Linked DNA regions of Homo sapiens: region 2 is linked to region 1. The links are contacts of gene promoters, found by promoter capture Hi-C in blood cells and fetal thymus (Javierre and others, 2016). All regions are on one chromosome and are shown on one strand. Each heading gives the region's core, a stretch centred on a gene start or on the middle of the fragment in contact. The rest is flanking DNA. Distances are from core to core; before and after follow the strand shown. Region 1 holds the start of ZNF618 (zinc finger protein 618). Region 2 overlaps ZNF618 (zinc finger protein 618).

The links. Contacts are between HindIII fragments. The CHiCAGO score rates a contact against its expected background, and 5 or more counts as called.
Region 2: a contact is called between a fragment that was not itself captured here and the fragment with the promoter of ZNF618 in region 1, in 1 of 17 cell types (endothelial precursors). The highest score is 5.1, in endothelial precursors.

The regions. Positions count from the first base shown.
Region 1 is chr9:113,873,453-113,879,244 of GRCh38, reverse strand. ZNF618 (zinc finger protein 618) reads right to left here and starts at 2,936. Exons shown (of 15, transcript NM_001318042.2): 1 at 2,832-2,936. The coding sequence starts at 2,864. RefSeq lists enhancers at 4,512-5,012, 5,013-5,513. The HindIII fragment of the contact is 22,796 bases long and covers 1-5,792 here.
Region 2 is chr9:113,961,039-113,966,658 of GRCh38, reverse strand. All of the region lies in intron 1 of ZNF618 (zinc finger protein 618), which reads right to left. Among named protein-coding and RNA genes, the nearest start is that of ZNF618, 88 kb to the right of the region's middle. RefSeq lists enhancers at 1,126-2,503, 2,142-2,642. The HindIII fragment of the contact is 3,265 bases long and covers 290-3,554 here.

The sequences.
Region 1 (5,792 bases), core at 1,687-4,186:
TTATTCCTTGCACCAGAAATAACCTGTTATCTACAACCCTGACTTTTTCTCAGATGCCCCTACCCCCCTCCACCCCTCCCCAGCCCATCTCTCCTTCATCACTGCTAAACTCAGGCCTTCTGCCTCATGAGGCCTCCAAAGCCCCTTGGAAATTATAAATTCCTTGACCGTCCTACTCATCGGCCTAAATAATTCAACAGAAAAAAATTTTTTTAATTATGCTACTTAAAAAAAAAAAAGCTCATTCCAAATATGTCAGAATGTGACCAGTCAGCCCTGAAGGATTTCGTTACTAAAAAAATAAAATCTCCCAAATGCAATGGCGATGATGGGAAATGTCAAACCTCTGCCATTGTCAAATATATTTCACAGAGATAATATATTTGACTTATTCCACTTAAACATCCAAATTTCCACAAAACAGGGTTGGGAATCTATGGACTGGGGCCACCAGTTTTCCCAAGACCAGCTAGTGGCTGGCAAAAGGAGCAAAGGGTTTCCTTTCTTGCCCCAGGTGACCCACCATCAATTTCCAATCCAAGGTCCCTCCAAGATCCCGCCCTGCAAGTCCTAACAATATGCTGTTTTTGGACAGAAAAATTGTAACTTTTGGGGGATAGGCTCAAAATCCCCAGCAAGTTCAATTAGATACTAATTTATCACAAAACGCTTCATCTTTGGGTGGGTACTTTATTCTCATCTGTCAAATTTCAATTCGGTCAATATTTATTTGCCTTCTTAAATTTTTTTTTCTTTTTTGTTTCACCTTCATGTGATTCATTTTAAGGCCAAAACCTCCACATGAAATATTGTTTGCATATATGCTTTCATATTCCAAAGGCAAACCTTGGGTTTGGCTTTTGTTTGTATTTTGATTATTTTTCCTTTATTTTGTTGCTGCTAAAACCAGCTGAGTTGGTGTTATATCACATTTCTTCAGCAAAGTAAGTGTTCTACCAAGGAAGATGGATAAGAATCAGAATTTTCATCTCCTTTTTGCCCATCCCTCTTTTATCTTTTTCTTGTTAAGTCAGTAAAATTTGTGCATTTTTTTTTTTTGGTCACAAACCCCCCAAAATGATCAAGGCTAATGGATTTTTCCCCCTTTGAAAGTAATCAGGTTTTTGAAAAATAACAAATATTGATAAACTACCAACCCCACATCACAATCAAAGAGGCCTGAAACCAATCTAAATTTTTTTTAAGTAATAAATTTTTCAAATTGGAAGGGTGAACAAGACAGAAAAGGGAAAATTTTCTTCCTTACCAAGGATTCCTCAATCCTTGTCTTCATCAATTGATTCAGTTGCATGTCATAAAAAATGAGCTTCTGTGAATCCACTGTTAGTTTTTTCATAATAATGTTAATTATGCATATCTTATTTTAATGGCGGTCTCTCCTACAAATCTGTGGGCTACTCAATTTGTATAATGTATGAATTTACATTTTTTCCACTTAATATTGCTCAAAAAAGGTTCCTGACATTTTCTGGATAAAACAACAACAAAAAAGAAATGCCTAGACCTTTCAGGAAACAAAATCAGAAAACAGTCTTAATTATTCCATCAAAACAAAAAAAACACACACACACACAAAACCCAACAAATACAGAAAAAAAGAAAGAAAGGATTTCACTGTAACTTTTCTAGTTTCTGTTTTCTTTAGAATCTTAGGATTTAAATGCAGTAAAATGTAAATGCAAAATTAAAAAAAAAAAACTACAATTTTTGGGTGTGTCCAAAGCCAACATTTTAGGTTCTATTTTCTCTTTTAAATCCTTCGTTCGTGGAAATAGAAAAACTTTAAATATTGCCATATAGAGAAATTAGTCTTTTTTTGCCCGCTGAGCTAAACAAGTTCCAAATTACAATGAAGTACAATTTCTAATTGCTTCATAAAGCCAATTCTCTCAGTTTTCCCTAAACTCAACAATTTCCCTCCTTTCTTTATTCCAATTAGTTTTTTTCTCAAACTAAAATGAGTTGGGTACCCAAACTGACTTTGCTTTTAGGAGGTTTTTTGCTTTCTCCCCTCCAAGAACTAAATTCATTCAAATTCCAGCTTAATTTTCATTTACATATTATCTGGATTTGGCTTCAGAAATAAAAATTGTCTCCATGCTTCTGGAAAGATCAAAGTGAAAATTTTCACCCGAAAAAAGAAAAAAAAAGAATCTCTTACCCCTCCACTGCCTGGTAGTGCAAACTTTTGAAAAAATAAGAAATAAAAAATATTTCTTTTCAATTTTAATTTCTTTTTTATTTACAAAATAGTATCCTCTAGGTGGCGTCGTTTTAATGGGAAAAAACTACCGTTTGAAGAAAAATTAGAAAAAAAAAATTGAGAAAGGAAAATATGGCCTAAAAAAAAAGATTGTTGCAAAAATGGGGGACCTGGGGGGAAAGACCTCCCGGGGGGTCATCGGGGACCCCGAGCGCAGAGAGGGTCAGGGGAAAATTGCAAATTTGGGGGGGAGGGGGCAGAGCTGGAAGGGGTTGCATTTTTGCAAAATGTGAATTGTCCAAACTGAAATGGCTGCTCTGTTCTCTCGCCGCTTTGTTTTCTGGGCTCCGGTCCGAGCCCGGGGCCGGAGGGGGCGCTGGGTGGGGGCCCCAAAAGACCCCCTCGTCACCCCCACCCTCCTCGCACCCCGCAGCGCCCGGGGGGGTGCTCTCCGGACCCCGACCCTCCCGATTGCGCCCACAAAAAGCCCGCAAACGTGCCCAGGCACTTTGCATTTTGCAAATCTTGCAATGAAGTGGCGCAGCGCCCCGGGCCCCGGCCCCCCGGGGTCCCCCGCGCGGTGCATGCCCCCGGCCCCCCGTCGTACCTGCGGAGCCGCCGCGCCGCCCGGCTGGTTCATGGGTCCGTGCGGGAGGAGGCGGCCCCGGCGCGTCCTGCTCCTCCCGGGCCGGGCTGCTGGTGCGCGCACAATGCCGCCGCCGCCGCCGCCGCCGCCGCCGCCGCTCCCTCCTCCGCCCGCCCCGCTCAGGCCGGGGGGGCGGGGGCGCTGGGGGCGCGCGGGGGGGGCGCCGGCCCTCGCCCCCACCCCCGGCCCGCACCGGCCGCGCCGCGGCAGCCGCTGCCGCCGAGCCGCCCCTCGCGGGGCCGCCGCCGCCCCCCGCCGCCCTGCCCGCCCCCGGGCCGGCCTCGCCGTGCGGCCCGCGAGCTCGGGGCCTCGGCCTCGGCCTCCGCGCTGCCGGCCTCCGCGTGGCACACAAAGCCGGCCGGTCCAGGGGCGCGCCCGCCCTCCCGTCCGCCAGCCCCAGTGCCGCGGCACACCCGCCCCCCCAAACTTTCCCGCGCCGCGCCCTGCCCTCCCCGCGCCCCCCGCGCCCGCTCCCCGGCTCCCTTCTGCCCTCCCCCAGTCCCCCAGCCCCTCGGAAATGTCATTTTCACGCTGGAAAAAAAGTTCAGGGAGCCGGCTCTCGGCGGAACGCAAGAGGTTAATGGGAACTCTGTACCCCGCTGTACCCCCCCGCCAAAAAAAAACCAGATTGATTTTTGAAATAAAAGTTTTCAAGAGCTGGCTTGCTGGAAGACTGGAAGGCTTATTGGGAATATTCTATTGCCCTGCCACTCCTCCCAAAAAAACTAATGTAATAAAATAAAAGTTTGAAGGACTGGCCCCATGTCCGACAAGAGTGGTTAAGGGGACTCTAGCCCCCCAGCCAGACTGATTTTTAAAATAAATACTTGAGGAGCCGCTTTTATGTGAAATGCCAGTGAAGCGGCTGTTTCTGCCTATCCTTGCCAAATTAAAATATATATATGTATTTCTAAATAAAAGTTTGAAAAACTGGTCCTACAGTAAGACAAGAGGGGTTAAAGGTTAAGGGATATTAGCGCCCCCCACCCCCATATCCCCCAGTTAGGTTGATTTAGAGAAGGAAAATTTGAGAAACTTGCATGTGAAATAAAACGTGAACCAGGATATTTCTTTCCAACACCCCAAAATAGCCAGTTTTTTTGTTGTTGTTATTGTTGTTTTTTTTTTTTTAACTTGAGCAACTGCCTCCTTGTGACTTGGGAAAGTTTAAAAGGGATTTTTTTTTCTATTCTCTTCCCTATTCTCCTAAAAAATCCGATTTTTTAAAAATTGAAAGTATGAAGGACCTGCCCTATTATAGAGACAAGGAGGGATTACTGGATCCATCCTACATCTCCCACAACTGGTTGATTTTTGGAATAAAAATGTTAAGAATTGCTCTTCTATGAGATGCAAGGTGAACAGAAATCCTTCTTTGCCCCTCCCCAAAAGAAAACTGCAAGGGTACTTTTCAAAAATAAAAGCATTGGAAATTAAGAGTAACCAGGTATCTTCTCTCTGCCCCCACCTTCAAAAATCAAATGTTCTTTTTTGTAATGTTTAAAGAACTGGAGCAATATGAGACAGGAAAGGTTACAGAAATGTTTTCCCTACAATCCTCAAAAAAGTTATTTTTAAAATTTTAGGAAACGGAGGCACTGTGTAGAAGACACCTCCTTTCCCTAATAAGTTAAATTGGGAGTTTAGCCCTATATGGGAGACATGAAATTAAGAAACACAACTCTTGCCCCCCTTAACAAACACTCATAACACAAGACGTTAAAAGGAGTCTTCTGGCCGGGAGTGGTGGCTCACGCAAATAATCCTTTTGGGAGGCCAAGGCGGGTAGATCACGAGGTCAGGAATTGGAGACCAGCCTGGCCAACATAGTGAACCCCTTCTCCACTAAATATACAAAAATTAGCCAGGTGTGGTGGCACACACCAGCCAGTAGTCCCAGGTACTCAGGAGGCTGAGGCAGGAGAATTGCTTGAACCCGGGAGGCGGAGGTTGCAGTGAGCCGAGACCACGCCATTGCACTCCAGCCTGGGTGACAGAGTGGGACTCCGTCTCAAAAAAAAAAAAAAAAGAGGAGTCTTCTAACCACTTCCTCCCAGACCCCTAAAAGTTGGAGATTCCTTAAAAATTGAAATTGAAAGTGGCCATTTTTCTCCCCACCAACCTGGTAAGTATGTCCCTGCCAGAGGTTTGGCAGCCTCTGCCCAGGCTGGTGTGCAGCAGGCACCAAGGTGAGTAGGGGCAGCTTGCAGAGCATGGCAGAGTTGGGTCCTGTGAGCCCTGAGCATATGTGCTGGGCAGGCAGCCCCTAGTCCACCTGCCCCTCATCCACCAGGTGGTTGGGGCCTTGTTACCTGGAAAGATGCTCCCAGATTTGATGTCTGTCTGGCTCGATCCTTGTGTGAAGGTTTCTGGGCACCTGCCTCAAGGCCGGGTCCCCGCCTCTGCCTAGTAGAGCCAAGCCTGATCTTAGGCCTTAGAGTAGAAACTAGATCCAAAATGACATGGGGTCTCAGTCACCACAGCTGAAAGCTGTATGGTACCAAGGAAAAACTCCTGCCCTGGGAGTCGGGAAAACTTGATACGATAATTATTCATTTGAGCACTTACTATGTGCCAGGTGCCTTGTATCTAGTAGGACAGACACACACCATGAAGAGGAGAACTATTTGCAGCAGCTCTTCTCAAATGCAAGTGATCCTTGGAATCAGCAGGAGAGCCTATTCAGATTGCTGAGCCCACCCCAGAGTTTTGAATTCATTTGGTCTAGGTTAGGCACCAAGAGTTTGCATTTCTAATGCGTTTCCAGGTGATGCTGATGTTGCTGGTTTAAGGGCCACCTTCTTCAAACCTTTGCAGTACAGTGCCAACAGTGAGGTGCTCAGTGCAGCTCAAGGAAGGGTCCTACCCAGCCCGGGCGTGGGTCAGCGAAGATTCCAGGAGGGTCTTAATTAGATGGAAGTT
Region 2 (5,620 bases), core at 673-3,172, 88 kb before region 1:
GCGTGTGGGCCTGGCCGAGTCCAGCTACACCATGACGACAGAGCCAAAGTCCACTGTGTTGGGAACACCAACTCCCAGGGTGGAGTTCCATACACGCCAGGCCGGTGTGGTCTGTCCTTACAAATACATCACAGCCATTCCTTCCAAGTGGATTAAGCTGAACCTCTGACATTGCCATGTGCTGAGGCCAAAATGTTCTAACACCAGCAGTTTCATATGATTCAACCTAAACAGCAAACTCATCTGTACCCTGTGCAAACTGACCTGAGTCTCAATTTGAACCGAAGCTTAAGAGAACAGAGTTTAGAGTTAGAACATCGGAGTTCAAGGCCTGGTTTTGCCGTTTTCTAGCTCTGCGATCTTCAGCAAGTCACACGTATTTCCAAGGCCTCGATTTCTCCCTCTGCAAAATGGCAAGATGCTCATCACAGGACCTACTTCACGGGACTGGCTTGGGACTTGAGATAGCTTAAATAAGGTAAAACATGTAATAGCATGTAAAAGTACTTAGTGAGTGCTTGGCTATAATAATGAAAATAATCACTGACAACCCTATAGTTATAGAGGCCACTATTTATTGGGTCTAGGAAACTGAGGCACAGAAAAACAGAATGATATGTATAAGATGAACGAGTCGCAGAGCCAGCCTGGGGTGGACCATGGGTCTTCTGCCTCAAGGCCTTCCCCGAATCCCAAGCTGCAAGTCGGCATCTCATGAGTGGCCACCAGACCACACAGCCCGAAGGCCTTCTCCAACGGTGCAGCCAGAATGACAGTAATGTCACTAAAGTACTAAGCGCAGCCCTGGTATACATAGTCATTACTCAGGTAATGGAAACTCCCACTGCAGCTGCTGTTGTTCCACCATCTTCCGCCACTGGACTGTGTGCTCCTTAAGGATGTAGCTTGTTTCCCTGGCTCTGAGTCTCATTTTGAACCTCAGACAAGCTCGTTCCTTTCTCTGCACCTGAGATTCTCCATAGGTAAAAAATGGGGGCGGAGAAGGAGGTTAAATCAGGTCATCTCCCCCACTCCATGTGGAGTTGACCCAACCTTAAAACCAGACTCCTCTATGACAAATAAAATAAGGAGGACCCCAGTGAGATCCTCCTTCTCACTCTCGTAAAGCTGGGGTGAAGGTGTATCTAAGCCCTCCAGCCCCGAATAAGGGTGCCTGTCCCCTCTTCCCAGCCCCACCCATTCCTTATTCACCAGTTTCCCCTCAGGACCTGGGCAAGGCTATTTTTGGTTTCATTCGACCCTCCTCTTCCCTCCCAAATGAATGTGAAGTTGTTCTTTTCCATTCTCTTATTAAGGGTTTTCTTGGAAAGAAAATATTATTCCAAACCCAGAAATTTTATTTCTAAATTTGTGCAAATGTAAGTTGTAAGACATTAGCTGCATTTCACATTTTGTGCAAATGGCAGAAACAGGCAATTCGTGTGCTCCAGGATGGGGGCTGGCCAACGATTTCGATAAAATAAACCCTTTTTTAATTTAAATGCTAATGCACTGAATTAAAATTTAATAACTGAGGAAATTGAAAAGCCGAGCAGGAATATTGGAAATAAATCCAAGCAGAAACAGCTGAAATTAAAAATTCTAGAGAGTGGGAGGATAGCAGCTAAGCTGTCTTATATGATTACATTTTTTTTTTTTTCAGAATGAAGCAAAAAAAAAAAAAAATCCTATCTCTCGCTGGCTCTAGGGCAGTAAATCCACAGTGCTGTGATTTATTGCTCAATTTTCCTGAGGGAAAAAGGCTTTCTTTCATGCTGAAATATTTCATAAATTTCAAGCCAGCATAAATTCTTAATTTAAAAGTTATGGAGGTCACATTTAGTGCACTGGTACGGTTCCAAAATCTTAAAGGAATAGCAGCAACCAAAAAAAAAAAAAAAAAAAAAAGCAGAAAGGAGGGGTAGAATTTGCTCTTTTCTTTTTTTCCTTTTTTTCATTTTGGTTTTAATTCTCACAAGTTGAAATTTCATTATTAAAGATTCCTCCTGGATGGATAGAACCCAAGCACGTGGGGAACCGCTGTGTGTTTGGAAAAACCTGCTGCAAAAGATGAAGAGATAAAGATTTAATTCAATTATAAAATGGCATTTTTTTTTTTAAGCCACTTGAGGAATTTCTGGTAAAAATTTCCTCCCTTCATTGCCCGGGAAGCGGTGAGGGTGGGGGAGGGTGGCCAATGTAATTGCTTCTCTTAGATCTCCAATCTTTTGTGCTCACTGATATATTCATTTGTTATACAGCTGTTCAGCGGCGGAAAGAATGCTGGGGCGCCCATAATTCTAAGCAAATCAATCAAAAATTAATGATTTGTCATGCTTGCACAATGGAGGAAAAACAGCTCCTTAGGTCCTGGCTGCCTGATCTCGAAGAATGAAATGCCTTTCTTCGATAAGAGAACCGAGCCTGAGGCTCGGGGAGGCTGAGGTGCTGCCACAAATGTGGGGGCCTCACAGTCCCCCTAGCTCTGTGAGGTTAGAAGGGGGCCGCCATCTTGGAGGGGGCATTTCCAAGATGGCGCCTCAGCTAGCCAAGCTCAAGATGGACCTGGCGCAGCACATTTTCACAGTGCTATAATTAGGATTTTGCCTTTTCCTCCCCCACCGCAACTCAAAAATTACTTGGTCTCTAGAGAATTGAATGGCTCCCTCCTCCCCCAGCTAGATTTAATTTGTCCCTGTTCATTGTTTTCCCAACACTGCTGACACGCAGACATCAACCAACTCTACGGGACTGGGACTGGGGCTGCAGTTCCTGAAGCGTCTGTCACCCCCCAGGGTGTGTGCTGCCCCTCCTCCAAAGGCCACATCCCACACATGACCATGTCACCAGCACCCAGCTCAGGGCCTGGCACAGGGCAAATACTCGGCAAATATAGTTGAATCTGTTAATTATGATTGTTTCTCAAAAAAATACTGACAATGAGGTTGCTTAGATGAATGGTGCATTGGCAATCATGCTTGAATGAAATATATCAATTGACCTCAAATAATTAATCATTCCTTTATTCACTCAGCAGATAGTTCTTGGAAACCTACTATGTGGCAAGTACTCTGCTGGGCTCTGGGTGGATGACGTCAAATCCACTAGGGGACAATTTTGAATGCCCAGTGGTCAGTATTTTTCAGGCTTCTCTGCACCCTTATGGAAGGGAAGCATGAACATGAACCCAGAGAGAAATGGGAGTTTCTCTGCATGCTCAAATGCCCTTTGAAGTCTTGTAGCTTACTAATTCTTACCAATACATTTGAATATTACATTCAAACTACCAAATACATACGACACCATAATACATATTTCATATATTTTTATATGTTAGTACAAACATCAACATTGTTTTAAACGACCAGCTGGTACAATTAACCTTGCAGGAAGATATGTGACCTCGGCAGTGGGTGCAACCAAGTGCATTTAACCTGGAGGCCTGCAGGGGGCACTGCGCTTGCAAGAAGCACCCACCAACCCAGGACCTGCCCAGAGGATGATTCTATGTCCCCTAATATTTAGAGGACAGTTGGTCTGAAACAACTCAAGCTTTATTTATATATCTATTTCCTTTCCAAAAGCCAGTGAATCCCCAAAACTTAACATGTAACTTTCTGTCTCCTCCACTGAGGCACAAGACTCAAATAAGGAAAATTCACTCATTCATCCAACAAACATTTATCAAGCTCCTTCTACATGCCAGACATCATTTTAGGCAGTTGGGATATATCTATACCCTTGTGGCAATTACATTCAAGTGGGGGGAGACGCTAACATTAGGCGTAATAAATAAGTAAAACATATAGCATGCTTGAAAGTAATCAGTTCTATGGTGTGTGGGGGAGGCGGGGGAGTCATGAACAGGGAAGGATAGGGTGGTCAGGAATGCTGGGGACAAGGGAGGAGCCACAGGCTGCAATTTTAAGTAGGGTAGTTGGGTAGGCATCATTGGGTGAACACTGTAAGAGGGTGAGAGAGTTGGCCATGTGGTGTCTGGGGCAAAGTGGATGCCAGTGCAAATGACCCCAGGACAGGAGCATGCCTGGTGTGCTTGGCAAACAGCAAGAATGTCAGGATACCTGGGGCAGAGTACATGAGGACAAGAGGAGGAGAGATCATGGGAGGTCAGCTCATGCAGAGCCTTGCAGGCCACCGAAGAGCCTTGGCTTCTACTCTGGAAAGCCACTAGAAGGTTTTGGCAAAGTGACATACTTTGACTTACATTTTAGAAAGATCACTCTGGTTGCTGTGTTGAAAGGAGACCATGAGGCCAGGGGGGAAACAGAAGGCTGGCAGGGCTACGGAGCAGTCCAGGGAAAAGATGATGGTGGCAGGGACTGAAGAGGGTGAGGAAAGGTTGAGTTCTGAATATACTGGTTGGTGCTGGTAAATTAGATGTGGGGTATGACATAAAGAAAGAGTCAAGGAAGATTCCAAAAATCATGGGCCTTAGCACCAAGAAAAATGGAGTTGCATCTCTCCCACACATGAGAATACTAACCATCAGCACAGTACTTTACAGATAAGTTACGCCGAATGAGATCCTCCCAGTAACCCTGCAGGGAAAACACTGTGGTTTAAATATCCCTCTTTGACCAAGAATTAACCAAGCACGTGGAGGGGCTAAGTGACTTATCCAAGGTCATACCACCGCCAGTGGCTTGGCCAAGGTTCACACATCTTCTCACCCCAAGTCCACAGCCATTTCCTCTATATATTTGGCCCTTCCCCTATGGAACCAATGGATAAAACTTAGCCCCAAACCATATGGATGAACTGTTTTTCTGTCTAGCTACAGAGCTCCAACTCAGGCACAGGCAGCTCCAGCATTTATTCACCAGGTGTCCCTAAAAAATGCCATTTAAAAGTGCCAGGGCCAATGCTGAAAAAGTTATAAAGAGCTTTGCAAGTTACAAAGAGGATTCTGTTCCTGGAAACCAAATATATGATAAATTCTCTAATTAGTCCTTGCCTCTTAGATCACATTCAGTGGTATGTATCTAACACATTGTACTTGGTTTTTGTGTTTTCTTTCCCAACTGAACACGGTAACTCAAAGCCACTGACTGCCCTAGGTTCCACGCTTGAGGAGTGGCAAGAGGCTGCCAGAGAAGACCCTGGCCTGAAAGAGCTGGAACTCACATGAGTTTGTGCCATTTTTCCATAAATATTTATGAAGTTCCTATTAGATGTTTGATTCTGGGCAAGGCCTTGGCCGGTGGAGGATACGAAGATGAATCAGACCTGGTTCCTTATTCATTCGCCCAAATACCACTATGTATTATGATGTAAATGCCTACTATGGGCTGGGAACTAAAATAATTACTGGGGACACAACAGCAACAAGAACAGTGAAGGGGACAGGCATTGATGACTTAATGGCTTCAATCAATCAGTTTATAATTACCACCTGAGATACGTGCTCTGAAGGGAAAAGTCTGGGTTCCGTCAGCATCTTTGACAAGAGGATCCAACAGACTTCAGGGTCAGGAAGAGCTTCTATGAAGAGGGATACTGGAATAGGAAGCACAGAGCTCACACTCGACAGGGGGAATAAAACTGTAGATGCAGGTAAAGCTAACACAGGCTGGATGGCAGGGAGCGACATGCACCTCGT